4 separate regions of the Homo sapiens genome follow, and all the other regions are linked to region 4. The links are contacts of gene promoters, found by promoter capture Hi-C in human tissues and cell types (Jung and others, 2019). All regions are on one chromosome and are shown on one strand. The core of a region is centred on a gene start or on the middle of the fragment in contact, and the rest is flanking DNA. Distances in the headings are between cores, read along the strand shown.

The links. Contacts are between HindIII fragments. The study calls those that stand out against the background at their distance.
Region 1: a contact is called between the fragment with the promoter of KIF2C here and a fragment that was not itself captured in region 4, in 1 of the 25 tissues and cell types used here (dorsolateral prefrontal cortex).
Region 2: the fragment with the promoter of BEST4 here is called in contact with a fragment that was not itself captured in region 4 in 1 of the 25 tissues and cell types used here (hippocampus).
Region 3: a contact is called between the fragment with the promoter of TESK2 here and a fragment that was not itself captured in region 4, in 1 of the 25 tissues and cell types used here (heart right ventricle).

Annotation. Positions count from the first base shown.
Region 1 is chr1:44,738,471-44,741,453 of GRCh38, forward strand. It overlaps KIF2C (kinesin family member 2C), which reads left to right and starts at 1,367. Exons shown (of 21, transcript NM_006845.4): 1 at 1,367-1,532; 2 at 2,443-2,537. The coding sequence starts at 1,463. RefSeq lists an enhancer at 1,018-1,187. The HindIII fragment of the contact is 13,379 bases long and covers 1-2,983 here.
Region 2 is chr1:44,786,595-44,789,597 of GRCh38, forward strand. BEST4 (bestrophin 4) reads right to left here and starts at 1,576. Exons shown (of 9, transcript NM_153274.3): 1 at 960-1,576; 2 at 778-872; 3 at 1-102. The coding sequence starts at 1,111. RefSeq lists enhancers at 1-118, 28-117, 119-804. The HindIII fragment of the contact is 9,775 bases long and covers 1-3,003 here.
Region 3 is chr1:45,489,587-45,492,733 of GRCh38, forward strand. It overlaps TESK2 (testis associated actin remodelling kinase 2), which reads right to left and starts at 1,577. Exons shown (of 11, transcript NM_007170.3): 1 at 1,266-1,577. RefSeq lists enhancers at 1,235-1,284, 1,571-1,865 and a silencer at 1,515-1,734. The HindIII fragment of the contact is 6,056 bases long and covers 1,033-3,147 here.
Region 4 is chr1:45,199,916-45,203,009 of GRCh38, forward strand. All of the region lies in intron 1 of ZSWIM5 (zinc finger SWIM-type containing 5), which reads right to left. Among named protein-coding and RNA genes, the nearest start is that of ZSWIM5, 5.1 kb to the right of the region's middle. The HindIII fragment of the contact is 4,650 bases long and covers 1-3,094 here.

The DNA.
Region 1 (2,983 bases), core at 117-2,616, 460 kb before region 4:
AGGAAGTGAGGAGCGTCTCTTCCCGGCCGCCCATCGTCTGGGATGTGGGGAGCGCCTCTGCCCCGCCGCGACCCCGTCTGGGAACTGAGGAGTGTCTCTGCCCCGCCGCCACCCTGTCTGGGAGGTGAGGATCGTCTCTGACTGGCCGCCCCGTCTGAGAAGTGAGGAGCCACTCTGCCCGGCAGCCGCCCCGTCCGGGAGATGAGGAGCGTCTCCTCCCGGCAGCCGCCCCGTCCAGGAGGTGGGGGGAAAGCCCCCGACCGGCCAGCCGCCCCGTCTGGGAGGTGGGGGGCAGCCCCCTCCCAGCCGCCGCCCTGTCTGGGAGGTGGGGGGGGGGGGCGCCTCTGCCCGGCTGCCCCATTTGGGAAGTGAGGAGCCCCTCTGCCCCGCCGCCACCCCATCTGGGAGGTGTACCCAATAGCTCATTGAGAACGGGCCATGATGACGATGGCGGTTTTGTCGAATAGAAAAGGGGGAAATGTGGGGAAAAGAAAGAGAGATCAGATTGTTACTGTGTCTGTGTAGAAAGAAGTAGACATAGGAGACTCCATTTTGTTCTGTACTAAGAAAAATTCTTTTGCCTTGGGATGCTGTTAATCTATAACCTTACCCCCAACCCCGTGCTCTCTGAAACATGTGCTGTGTCCACTAAGGGTTAAATGGAAAAAAAAAAAAAGGAGGACAGGAACTATGTGTCTAGTTCATTATCTCCATTTCCTGGTACCATGCCTAGCAGGTGGTAGACTTCACTCAATAAATATCTGGTGAATCAGTGTCTTTCTGGAAATTTATACATAACTCCTTGAATGAGGCAACATGCTTCTGCACTATTTAATAAGAAAAACTAAGTCAAGTTTCTAATCTGTGGTTTTGTTTTGCTTTGAGAACAGGGTCTTGGCTATGTTGCCCTGTCTGGTCTCGAACTTCTGATCTCGAGCGATCACTCCCACCTCTCCCTTCCTAAGTGTTGGGATTAACAGGAGTGAGCCACCGCGCCCGGCCAAGTCTCCAACTTGCTCGAGGTCACTGAACTTGCAATTGAAGAAGCTACGATTCGAACCCATGTCTGTAGGATCCCAGAGCCCTCATTGTCAAATACATACTGAAGTTTCCCAGTTTTCGGGAACCCCGCAGTACAAGGTGACCGAGGACAATACCAGAAATGGGAGCCCCAGACCCCACGTAGCGGCGAAGTTCCCAGAAGGCACAGCGCTCGGGGGTGTGGCCAGACGCATGGGCGGTGCCAAGCGTAGGAAGATGGTTGGGAACTGCGTCTCCCCCAAGGCTCCGCAGGGCGCCGCTGACTGGCGGAAGCGAGGGCGGGGACAGCGGAATGACGTTTTAAGGACGCTTGCGCGCGGGATTTAAACTGCGGCGGTTTACGCGGCGTTAAGACTTCGTAGGGTTAGCGAAATTGAGGTTTCTTGGTATTGCGCGTTTCTCTTCCTTGCTGACTCTCCGAATGGCCATGGACTCGTCGCTTCAGGCCCGCCTGTTTCCCGGTCTCGCTATCAAGATCCAACGCAGTAATGGTGAGGAGCGGGGTCCCTAGGTCAAGGGGACTCGTGAGCGGTGAGACGACTGAAATTACTGCCCGTCCCCGGACACACAGATGGGCTTTCACTCTCTTTCTCTCCCTCCCTCCTTTTCACACGCACTCACTCCGGGTCTCTGCACTGGCAGTCATTCTTGCCTACACAGGGGTGAGAGTCCCTGCGCTGTACGTGGTCCCTTTCGCAGTCCTCTGGGAGTGGGCGGACCTTCTCCAAGGCTGGTAGACCTCCCAGGGAAGTTGGGACTTCTAAATTCACTTCCCTTCCAAAATTCTCCCCTGAAAATGCCCTGCTCTTATGGGGACCTCGGTCTCCTGGCCCCTTTACTCTCGAATAAATATTGCGCAGTTGCGGTATGTCAGGTAAACGGGACAGACAAGAACCCTGCGCTTGAGGAGCTTGTAGTCGTTCTCTCTTTTGCTTAAGCAGGTACCGCAGTTCTGGCAGGTCTGATACCCGTGTCATTAGGGAAATGGACAGATATGACCGCCAGAAATGAGTTAGGAAAACCCCAAAAGGGCCAGATCCTCAATGCTATGTTGAGGAAAAGTTCATCTAAGGGTTGTGGGGAATCCTGTGCTCAAACATACCTTTTGTATGTTCTCTTTTGTAGGCTCTATCTCTCTTTTTTTGTAGGCTCTCTTGAGTAGGGGTGAATCCTTATCCCATGCAGCTCAGTTTAAAAACCTGTCCCCAGCCCACCTCACTGTGGATATTCTAAAGGTGAAGCCCAGGAGATTTATTTGTTTCTCTTAGTTTTTTTTTTTTTTTTTTTTAAGGTAGCTGCCTGTTCCTTCAGGTTAACTCCACTTTGGGAATCTCTGTGGAATCCTAAAAGTGAAGCTCTCAGGAAAGAGATGGGTAACTCTGGTTTTTTCATACTTTATAGGTTTAATTCACAGTGCCAATGTAAGGACTGTGAACTTGGAGAAATCCTGTGTTTCAGTGGAATGGGCAGAAGGAGGTGCCACAAAGGGCAAAGAGGTAGGTTCTATGAGAATTCCTCTACCACATTTAATGTCTTCCTACATAAAGGATCTGTGCAGAAGTGGAATCTGTGAGAGCCTAGTTTCTGATGCTGTGCTCTTCTCACTCACGCCTGTAATCCCAGAACTTTGGGAGGCTGAGACGGGCAGATCACCTGATGTCAGGAGTTCGAGACCATCCTGGCCAACATGGCGAAACCTGTCTCTACTGAAAATACAAAAATTAGCCAGTCGTGGTAGTGCATGCCTGTAATCCCAACTACTTGGGAGCCTGAGGCAGGAGAACTGCTTGAACCTGGGAGGCGGAGGTTGCAGTGAGCCGAAACTGTGCCGCTGCACTCCAGCCTGGGTGACAGTGAGAATCTGTCTCAAAAAAAAAAAAAAAAAAAAATTGGCTGGGTGCGGTGGCTCTTGCCTCTAATCCCGACACTTTGAGAGGCCTGG
Region 2 (3,003 bases), core at 326-2,825, 410 kb before region 4:
CGCCGTGCACGCTAGCCGAGATGACGCACATCAGCTGGTCTGGCAGCGGGATGCTTGTGTACTGGGACCACCAGCGGTTCACCACGAGAGTCACATAGAAACCTGCTTGGCCGCCGTGATAGAGGGAGTAGGAAGGGAGAGTGGAGAGCCTGGGGGTCGGAGCGCCTCACCTCCCCCAGCAAAGGGCCTGGTCCAGGCCAGTTGAATCGTGGCAGGGGGAAGGAAACATTCAGCTCCAGTGCCCTGCTGTGCGAGGCCAGGAGGAGGGAGGAGGGCAAACTTCCTTCAGCAGAGGGAAAGTGGGGATTCAAAGCCAGGAGACTGCTTCCCAGGAGGGTGGGGAAGGGGTTGTCACCTCTGTCCAGCTCCCCTGCAGTGCCCAGGGTGGGCTTGTGAGGCCAGCAGGTGTCTTGTGCCTTGCTGGAAGTGAGGGTCCGGCAAGTGATAGGGCCCTGCCCTCTGGAAGTCCTGGACCCAGCACCCAGCTCCTGTGCCTGCTGGGCCTGCTCTGGCTGACCAGGAAGGCTCTGCCACCGTGTTGAGTAATTCTTTTTTTTTTTTTTTTTTTTTTTAGCAGAGTCTCGCTACATTGCCCAGGCTGGACTGGAACTCCTGGGCTCAAGCGATCCTCTCACCTCAGCCTCTCGAGTAGCTGAGACTGCAGGTGTGTCACCACACCATCTGTTGGGTAATTCTGACCCTCGGAGCTGTCAACCCAACCCAGAGGTCAGGGAACACAGTAAGGGGGACACAGGGAAAACTAGAAGGGAGCCTTACCCAATACAAAGGACAAGGGAATGAGGTCTGCTGAGCGGTTGCAGTACCGGGCCACCTGAGCATACACGTACCTCTGCTCCTGGGTCAGCAGCAGCCTGGGGAAGGCAGGTGTAGGCTTGGGTTAGAGGGAGGTGGGTGGCCCAGTCTCCCCACTTGCGCCAGCTCTAAGACCCTGCCCTTACCGGTAGGTGATGCTAAGCACAGCGTACAAGGCCCCAAAGAGGAGGAATTCCTTGTAGAGGAGCTTGTAGATGCTTCCCCTCCAGCGGAGAAGCAGGCCAGAGAAACCTCCGAAGCGGGCCTCCGCCACTTTGAGAGTGTATGAAACCGTCATGGTGCTGGGAGCCTGGGGCAGGAGGTCACAAGAGTTGCCCCCAGGGCTGTCGTTTAGTTCTCCAGACAACCTCCCTTCCACTCTGGTCTCACACACCCCAGCCTTCACCCTGCGTCAGTGGACAAGGGGGTAGGAGCCTGCAGAGCAGAAAAGTACACCCCACCCCCTGCAGAACTGAGCAGTACATGGGCAAAGCCAGGCTAGAGTTGGACAAGGTAGAACTGAGATCTGTGTCCCTTCATGCATGAGGTTTCCTCAAGCTCCTCTTCAGCCTGCAGGGCTAGGGATAACCAGATCCTGAACTGCTGCGGACAAGAGACGCAGCTCCAGCCCAAATCCACTGCTATTCCTTGGGGCCTTGCTTTGGAAGCTGATTAACTAGAACTACCAGGGCCCAGGGCACTCTCACCCCCATCCCATACCTGCCTACCTGCTCTGGGCAGCAGCCCGTGTGGAAGATGAACTGGGCTAGACTTCAACCCCCACAGACTTAAGTACCTCTGCAGTCCATAAAGTTAGGCTGGACTGAGGCCTATCATTGATGGATTGAAGCTGTCATCCAGCTTCCCCTGGTGCTGGGAACTGGGTGTGTCTCCTTACCCCTGTAGGGTTGGGCTGGCCTTCGAGTGGCAGAAATGCCAGCTATACTGACCCCACAGCTCACACAGACGACACCATGTCCTTCAAGCCAGTATGACAGGGGTTATTGTCCCACGTTTCAGGTGGGAAGACAGATGCATGATAAACTGTTATAATAATACCAGCTGCTGATCACAGAGCACTGACTAAGTGACAGGAACCATGCCAAGGGCACTACTAGGTCATCCTCTCAAGAAATCCTCATCACAGCACCATGAGGTAGGGAATCAATCATCCACATTTCACAGATGAGGCTCCAAGAGGTAAATGACTTGCCCGCCGTCGGCCATACAGCTAGAACATGTTGGAGGCAGGATTCAAAGCCAGGGCTGATGGACTTCCAAGGCTGGAAGTGGCCTAGCAAAGGCATGAGCTCCAGGACCCATCCTGTGCACTGGCCACACTCCCAGTCTTCTTGTACAGGGGCTTGGGGGCTTGGCCAGGCTCTTCTCCATCCATGCCACGGGGCTGACAGCCACAGATCTGGAAGCTCAGGCCTAGGAGTGCAGGCTCCGTTAAGCCCTGTGTCCAACATCCTGACTCCTAGGGGTGCCCAAGATTTGAGTGGCCACTTTCACCTCTGGAGGAAGTAATACCTAAGGCGCTGATAGAAATAGAACTTCCGCTGCCAGGCAAGGTGGCTCACACCTGTAATCCTAGCACTTTGGGCAGCCTCAACGCAGGTGGATCACTTGAGGTCAGGAGTTCGAGACTAGCCTGGCCCAACATGGTGAAACCCTGTCTCTACTAAAAATACAAAAATTAGCCGGGTGTGGTGGCACGAACTTGTAATCCCAGCAGGTACATGGGAGGCTGAGGCAGGAGAATTGCTTGAACCTGGGGAGGCGCAGGTTGCAACGAGTTGAGATCGTGCCACTGCACTCTAGCCTGGGTAATCAAAAAAAAAAAAAAAAGAAAAGAAAGAAAGAAAAAGAAAAAGAAAAAGAAATAGAATCTCAATGGGAGAATCGCTTGAACCCGGGAGGGAGAGGTTGCAGTGAGCTGAGATTGTGCCACTGCACTTCAGCTTGGGTGACAGAGACTCTGTCTCAAAAAAAAAAAAAAAAAAAAAGGCCAGGCACTGTGACTCACGCCTGTAATCCCAGCACTTTGGGAGGCCGAGGCAGGCGGATCACCTGAGGTCGGGAGTTCGAGATCAGCCTGACCAACATGGAGAAACCCCATCTCTACTAAAAATACAAAATTAGCTGAGCATGGTGGCACATGCCTGTAATCCCAGCTACTCCGGAGGC
Region 3 (3,147 bases), core at 327-2,826, 290 kb after region 4:
CGAAACCAGCCTGGCCAACGTGGGGAAACCCCGTCTCTACTAAAAGTACAAAAATTAGCCGGACGTGGTGGCGCATGCCTGTAATCCCAGCTACTCGGTAGTCTGAGGCAGGAGAATCGCTTGTACCTGGGAGGAGGAGGTGGCAGTGAGCTGAGATCGTGCCACTGCACTCCAGCCTGGGTGACAGAATGAGACTCCGTCAAAAAAAACAAAAACTAACAAACAAACCCTGAAACTTAACTTGTTCAAAACCAAATTTATTACCTTCTCTCAAAATTGCTTTTTTATGCTCCCTATTTCAGATGAGATCAGGAGCGTTGAGGGTGGTATAACCAGAGACTATGTTCCCTATTTCAATTAACACTACCGATTCACACCATCAGCCAAGTCAGAAACTTTCTACTATTCTTCTCAACTTTATTTTGAAACCTCTTGGAATTTCGGGCCATTCCCTCCCGCCTGGATGAGCACACTCGTTTTCTGCCTACCTGGCCTTTCCGCCTCCACGGTCTTCACTTTCAATCCTTCCTCTATATTTTCACCAAAGATAATGCAATCATACCAAGCTCCTGCTTACAAAACCTTCAACGGCTCCCCATGCATGCAGCATGAAGTCCAAATTCCTCAGCAAGTTCTTCTCAGAGGTATACAATTTAAAGACTTTTAAATTACGCAAACCTGGATTTCGCTTGTAGCGAAATCTGAACACTGGCTTAGTCCACTCTTCACAGCGAAGAGTAAAAAGCAGAGAGGGGAAAGGAAGGGAGACGATGACAAGCGAGGAAAGAAGAGGGGGAAGGCAGTAGGGTCTGAGGGGAGGGAATTGTTTTCCTGGGTAGAGGTGAACGTTTTCGAGGGAAGAGTGTATCGGAGGGAAGTCAAGTGAAGGAACCCAGATCTCTGAGGCAGGAGCGGGTATGCGAGCAGGGAGGCGCTCAGTGGGGAGCTGGAAGTCTCTGAAACAAGAGTTTTCCGAGAAAACGAAAGATCCCTAATGCGAGCGAGGTAACTTCTAATGGGTTCCCAGGTTCTAAGGGGGAGCAGACGTGGCGGGGAGCCTGAGGGAAGTGAGAAGGAAAGGGGAAAGCGGCCAGGAAGGGAGCGTCCGCCGCCGCTGAGAGGGGGACCTCTGGGAAGCCGAGGGGTCCCGTCGGGTGCGGAGGGACGCAGGCGCCTCTGCTCCGGGGCAGAGGAGGTGGAGCGGCAGCGCGCGCGGGCCAGGCAGGATGCCCGGGTTTGTGACCCCCGTCCTCTTTTCACGTTACCTGAGGCAGGACTGAGCAGCCAGAGGGGTGCCTGCGCGGGCAAGAGGAGGAGACGGCGGCAAAGAGGGAGCATAGTAACCCTCACAGCTCGTTGGTGGCAGCGGCTCCTTAGCCTGCGGAGGCGGTGGGAGCCCCTAGCGCAGAAGCCGGCGACTCAGCTAGGCTAGCGGCGGCGGCGAACGAGGAGACTACTGCCATGGCCCCACAGTCGGGGCCGCTCCCCCCGCCTGTTTGGCGGGGCCAGGAGGACGATCCGACCAGCGAAGCCAACAGGGCAGCTGGTAGCTCTGCTGAGCTCCCGGGCCGCGAAAGACTGAAACGCCTACCCGGCCCAGCAGGGGGGTTGGGGGCGGGGTCTCGGCTGGCCACGCCCCTCCCTCAAGCCCTCCCTCAGAGTAGCCAGTCAACCGTCAACTCCTGATAAACGAGGTAGTGGAATTGCCCAATTAGCGCTAGGAATGCCACGTGGTATGAGGGTGGGCACAATGGGCGTCCAGAAAAGCCAATCAACAGCCGTAGGTGCCAACTCCGGAGGACGAAGGGAACCAATAGGAAGGAAGTCGAGGTAAAAACAGAAGAAGCAGTGTGTGGGAAAGGCGGAACCGAGGAGGAGGGAATACACCTGGGGGAAACCCAAGTCCAGGAGCCTCTTAGAGGGCGGGGCAGTAAACACAAGATGGACCAATAAAAATGTTAAACACAGAAATGATTGGTAATTGATAAAGCCAATAGAAAATGGACTAGACTGGCGCGGCTTTCGGGTTGGTCAAGGTATAGCTGAGTAAGGAAAAGCGGTAAGAATGCTGCGTCCTGCAGGATTTCAGTATAGTGAGGAGGAAAAAATATATCAATAATACCGACTTGAAATAGTAAGAGCAATCAGTAGAGCTAAACAAAATGCTAGGGAAGCAATTAATCATGACTATGAGATTCGGTTAAGTGAAAGCTTAGAGGAGGTAACACTTCAGCTAGCTTGAAAACAGATTTTGAAAGAAAGCTGGTGGGGAATAAGTTGGGATTTTTTGTTGTTTTTGTTGGTTGTTTTTTTTTTAGAAGGGTCTCACTCTGTCGCCCAGGATGATGGAGTGCAATGGAGCGATCATGGCTCACTTGCAGCCTCAAACTCCTGGATTAAGATGATCCTCCCAACTCAGCCTCCCCGGATAGCTGGGACTACAGGCACACGCCAGCATGCCTGACTAATTTTTTGTATATTTTGTAGAGACGGGGTTTACCATGTTGCCCAGGCTGGTCTGTAACTCCTGGACTCAAGTGATCGGCCCACGTTGGCCTACGAAAGTGCCGGGATTACAGGCGTGAGCCACCGCTCCCAGCTAAGAATTCTGCCCAGCTGTTCAAGGCACATATTTCTTCACTTTTTGCATGTGCCTGGACATCAGGAGCTCATAATCTCATGACTGAAGAGACTAGAACAGGAGGAGGGCAAGAGCAAGCAGTATGGGCCTTACTGTATTAGCACTCCCAGGGGTTAGAGACCCCTTTTCAGACATCTTAAGACTTTCATCCTCCTGGAAGAGTATAAGTGGTATGCATTCCTGGTGGCCATAAAGTTTAAGAAATATGGCCAGGGCCGGGAGCAGTGGATCACGCCTGTAATCCCACCACTTTGGGAGGCCGAGGCAGGGGGATCACGAAGTCAGAAGATCGAGACCATCCTGGCAAACATGGTGAAACCTCGTCTCTACTAAAAATAGAAAAATTAGCTGGGTGTATTGGCGCGTGCCTGTAGTCCCAGCTACTCAGGAGGCTGAGGCAAGAGAATCGCTTGAGCCCGGGAAGCAGAAGTTGCAGTGAGCCAAGATCGCACCACTGCACTCCAGCCTGGGCGACACAGCAAGTCTCCGTCTCAAAAAAAAAAAAA
Region 4 (3,094 bases), core at 418-2,917:
TGACTAAACGTTAATTCAATGACTGAACCAAGAACAAGTTAATAATAAGCTTCAAGGATAATTTTTATCTATGTAATGCTTTAAAAATCAGAAGCATCCAGAAATTGAGCCACAAATGCCAATACATCTTTTAGGCTTCAGTTACATATAAATCAATTAAGAGAGATGTCATACTACACAAATATAAAAAATGATATGACAATGTACTCATTCATTCAATAAACATTTACTGAGCACCAACTTAGGACAAACCACATTATACATCCTAAGGGGGAGAACAATTACACTGAAAACCAAAAATTAATCAGTTGACTATATATGATTACAAAAACTATCGCAGAGTAATTTAGCGTATAATCACATAATACTACAGCTAATATTTAAATAAGTATGATTTTCTTAGTCTACTAGCTCCATGATAGGCTAAAAGTGTCCAAGAAGCATGCTGCCTATGTTAGAAAGAAATAAGCCTATAAATAAACCACAAGGTAAAAAAATTCACATAAAAATTATCTGGAATAAATTATTATCTATTTCTAATATCAAGCACTAATTGTAAACCATAGTAATTTAGGGTTTGGAAACAGACATTAAAACACTGTTCATATGCTTTCAAGGTTATCCATTTCTAAAGCTGAGTTATAAATGGTGTGCATGAAAAAAAACCCACAGTAATCTATTCATTCATATATGTATACCATGAGTGCTATATCACACAGTCATCATTTTTTATCAAGAATGACAATTTTAACCTTTAAATAACCACTTATTTGTCAAAAATATTCCACATGTATTAAGATTAAATAATCATGCAAATTGAATCAAGCAAGTCTAAATAATGCTTACCTAATAAAATTAATGTGGTGATTTCCTAACTTAAGCCATACTTAATGTAATAAAGTTTAAAATTCACATGAAACTCAGATATGCAACAAGAAACAAGTATGAGAAGCTGTTATGGGCTGAATTATGTCACCCCCCAAAAAATATGCTGAAGTCCTAACCCCCAATACCTCAGAACATAACCTCAGTCCCTCATGATGTGACTTTGGGAATAGGGTTGTTGTGTATGTGATTGAGATGAGGTCATACTGGAGTAGGGTGAGCCCCTAATCCAATATGACCGGTGTCCTTATAAGAAGGCCATGTGAAAACAGACACACACAGGGAGAATGCCACGTGACCACAAAATCAGAGATTGGAATTTTGCAGCTCCAAGTCAAAGAATGCCAAAGACAGCCAACAAACCACCAGAAGCTAGCAAGAGGCAACAAAGGATTCCCCTGTAGGTTGCAGAAGGAGCATAGCACTGCCAACACCTTGATTTTGGATTTCTAGCCTCCAGAACTCTGAGACAATACATTTGTGTGGTTTTAAGCCAATCCAGTTTGTGATACTTTGTTACAGCAGCCATAGGAAACTAATACAGCATTTTTACAGTAATATATATGTTTCTCTTGTACATTATATCAATGCATTGATTTTTAAAAATTTTATTTTCTACGGTATCATATAGTAAACTTGACTTTTTTGGTGTATAGTTCCATACATTTTAACACATGTATATATTCATATAACCCTCACCATAATAGATTACTGACAGTTAATGTCTTGTTTTTTAATTGCTATTATTGAAACAAGAGAAATAAAATTGTCTCCCATAGGCATAAATTTCCAGCCTTTTCTATAATATATTTTTAAAATTCCTAAAATAAAGATAACCTCTAAAATAAAATTCACTCTCTTTAGTTTATCCATCATCTTTAAAATCCAAAGCTCTATCCTTGAGAAAGTCACCTTTAGAAAAATTCATTTAAAGCTTTCATTTGAAGAAATTGATAAATCACCATTCGTCACACAAAATAGATGGTTAAACACAGAAGATACACCTAAGTTGTAACACTCATACTACTTAATGCTATCAGTTTATTATATGCACAAATCTGGAGTTTTCCCCATATATTCCAATACCACTCATACTCAAAATTCAGGTCTCTCTCTGTTTTACAACACTGAGAAATCCATTCTTAACGTTCAGTCATTCAACAAGCACTTATTGAACATTAAAATGTGTGCATATGTGATGTGTTAGGGTGGAGGGAGAGAACTCATTGATCAGAAAAAAAAAAGATAATGTGATTTAAAACTTGAAAAATTTCTATGCTAAAAAGCACACCCGCTTAAAGGAATGCAGCTGCCTTCTGTGATGGAATACCTTAAATATCAATAAAGTTATTTTTCTCCACATGAAATTTTATTATAATTTTATTCATTCTAACTCACATATGCCACAGTTTTTTCAATGTAGATATCTTTTGTTCCCCCAAACAATATAGATTAAAACAAATTACATATAAAAATCAACAAACTGTAATACTTGTTACTGATAAATTTCATAAAAGTTATACTACAGAAAAATTTCACAGACCTGTTTATTGATGATATACAAGTGTACACAATTTTAAACTTACTACTTGATGTTTAAGTTATAGATAACTTCCTGAAATGGGCCACTTTTTATATTTCCATTATTGACTTTGTAATTGTACCTCTTCCACATAAGGTAATACTTAGCATTCTGGTTCTAGTCTTGAAGACTTCAAGAACAAATCATGTACTTATTAAAAAATGTGTAGACTAAAACTATGGGGTTTTGTTGAAGTCACCTGTCAAAATCTACTTAAAATTTCTGGATAAATACGTACATAACTAAGATGTACCAGGCGCAGAAGGCCCCTGCATGCCTTTAGCCAATTTTTAAAACTAAATATCCAAGTAAATATAACATTTCTGTGTTTAAGTGAGAAAAACTGTTAATTTTTTTTCCTTCAATCAATTCAGATTTTCCTGAGAAAAAGCAAAGCTTCTTTAAGTTTTACCAAATACAAAGAAATCAATTTAAAATACAGTGGATAGCAAAAGGGTCAAAATGTTAAAACCGTTAGTAAATTATAGGTGTCTTATTCTTATGCCATCTGCAGACTCCTGAATAAGTATTTTCCCAAAGTTTATACTACTACTATATCCATGGGCTTCTGAAACAAGTTAAAAATGCAGATGCTGAAAACATTCATATGTTTTCAATAGAGTTCAT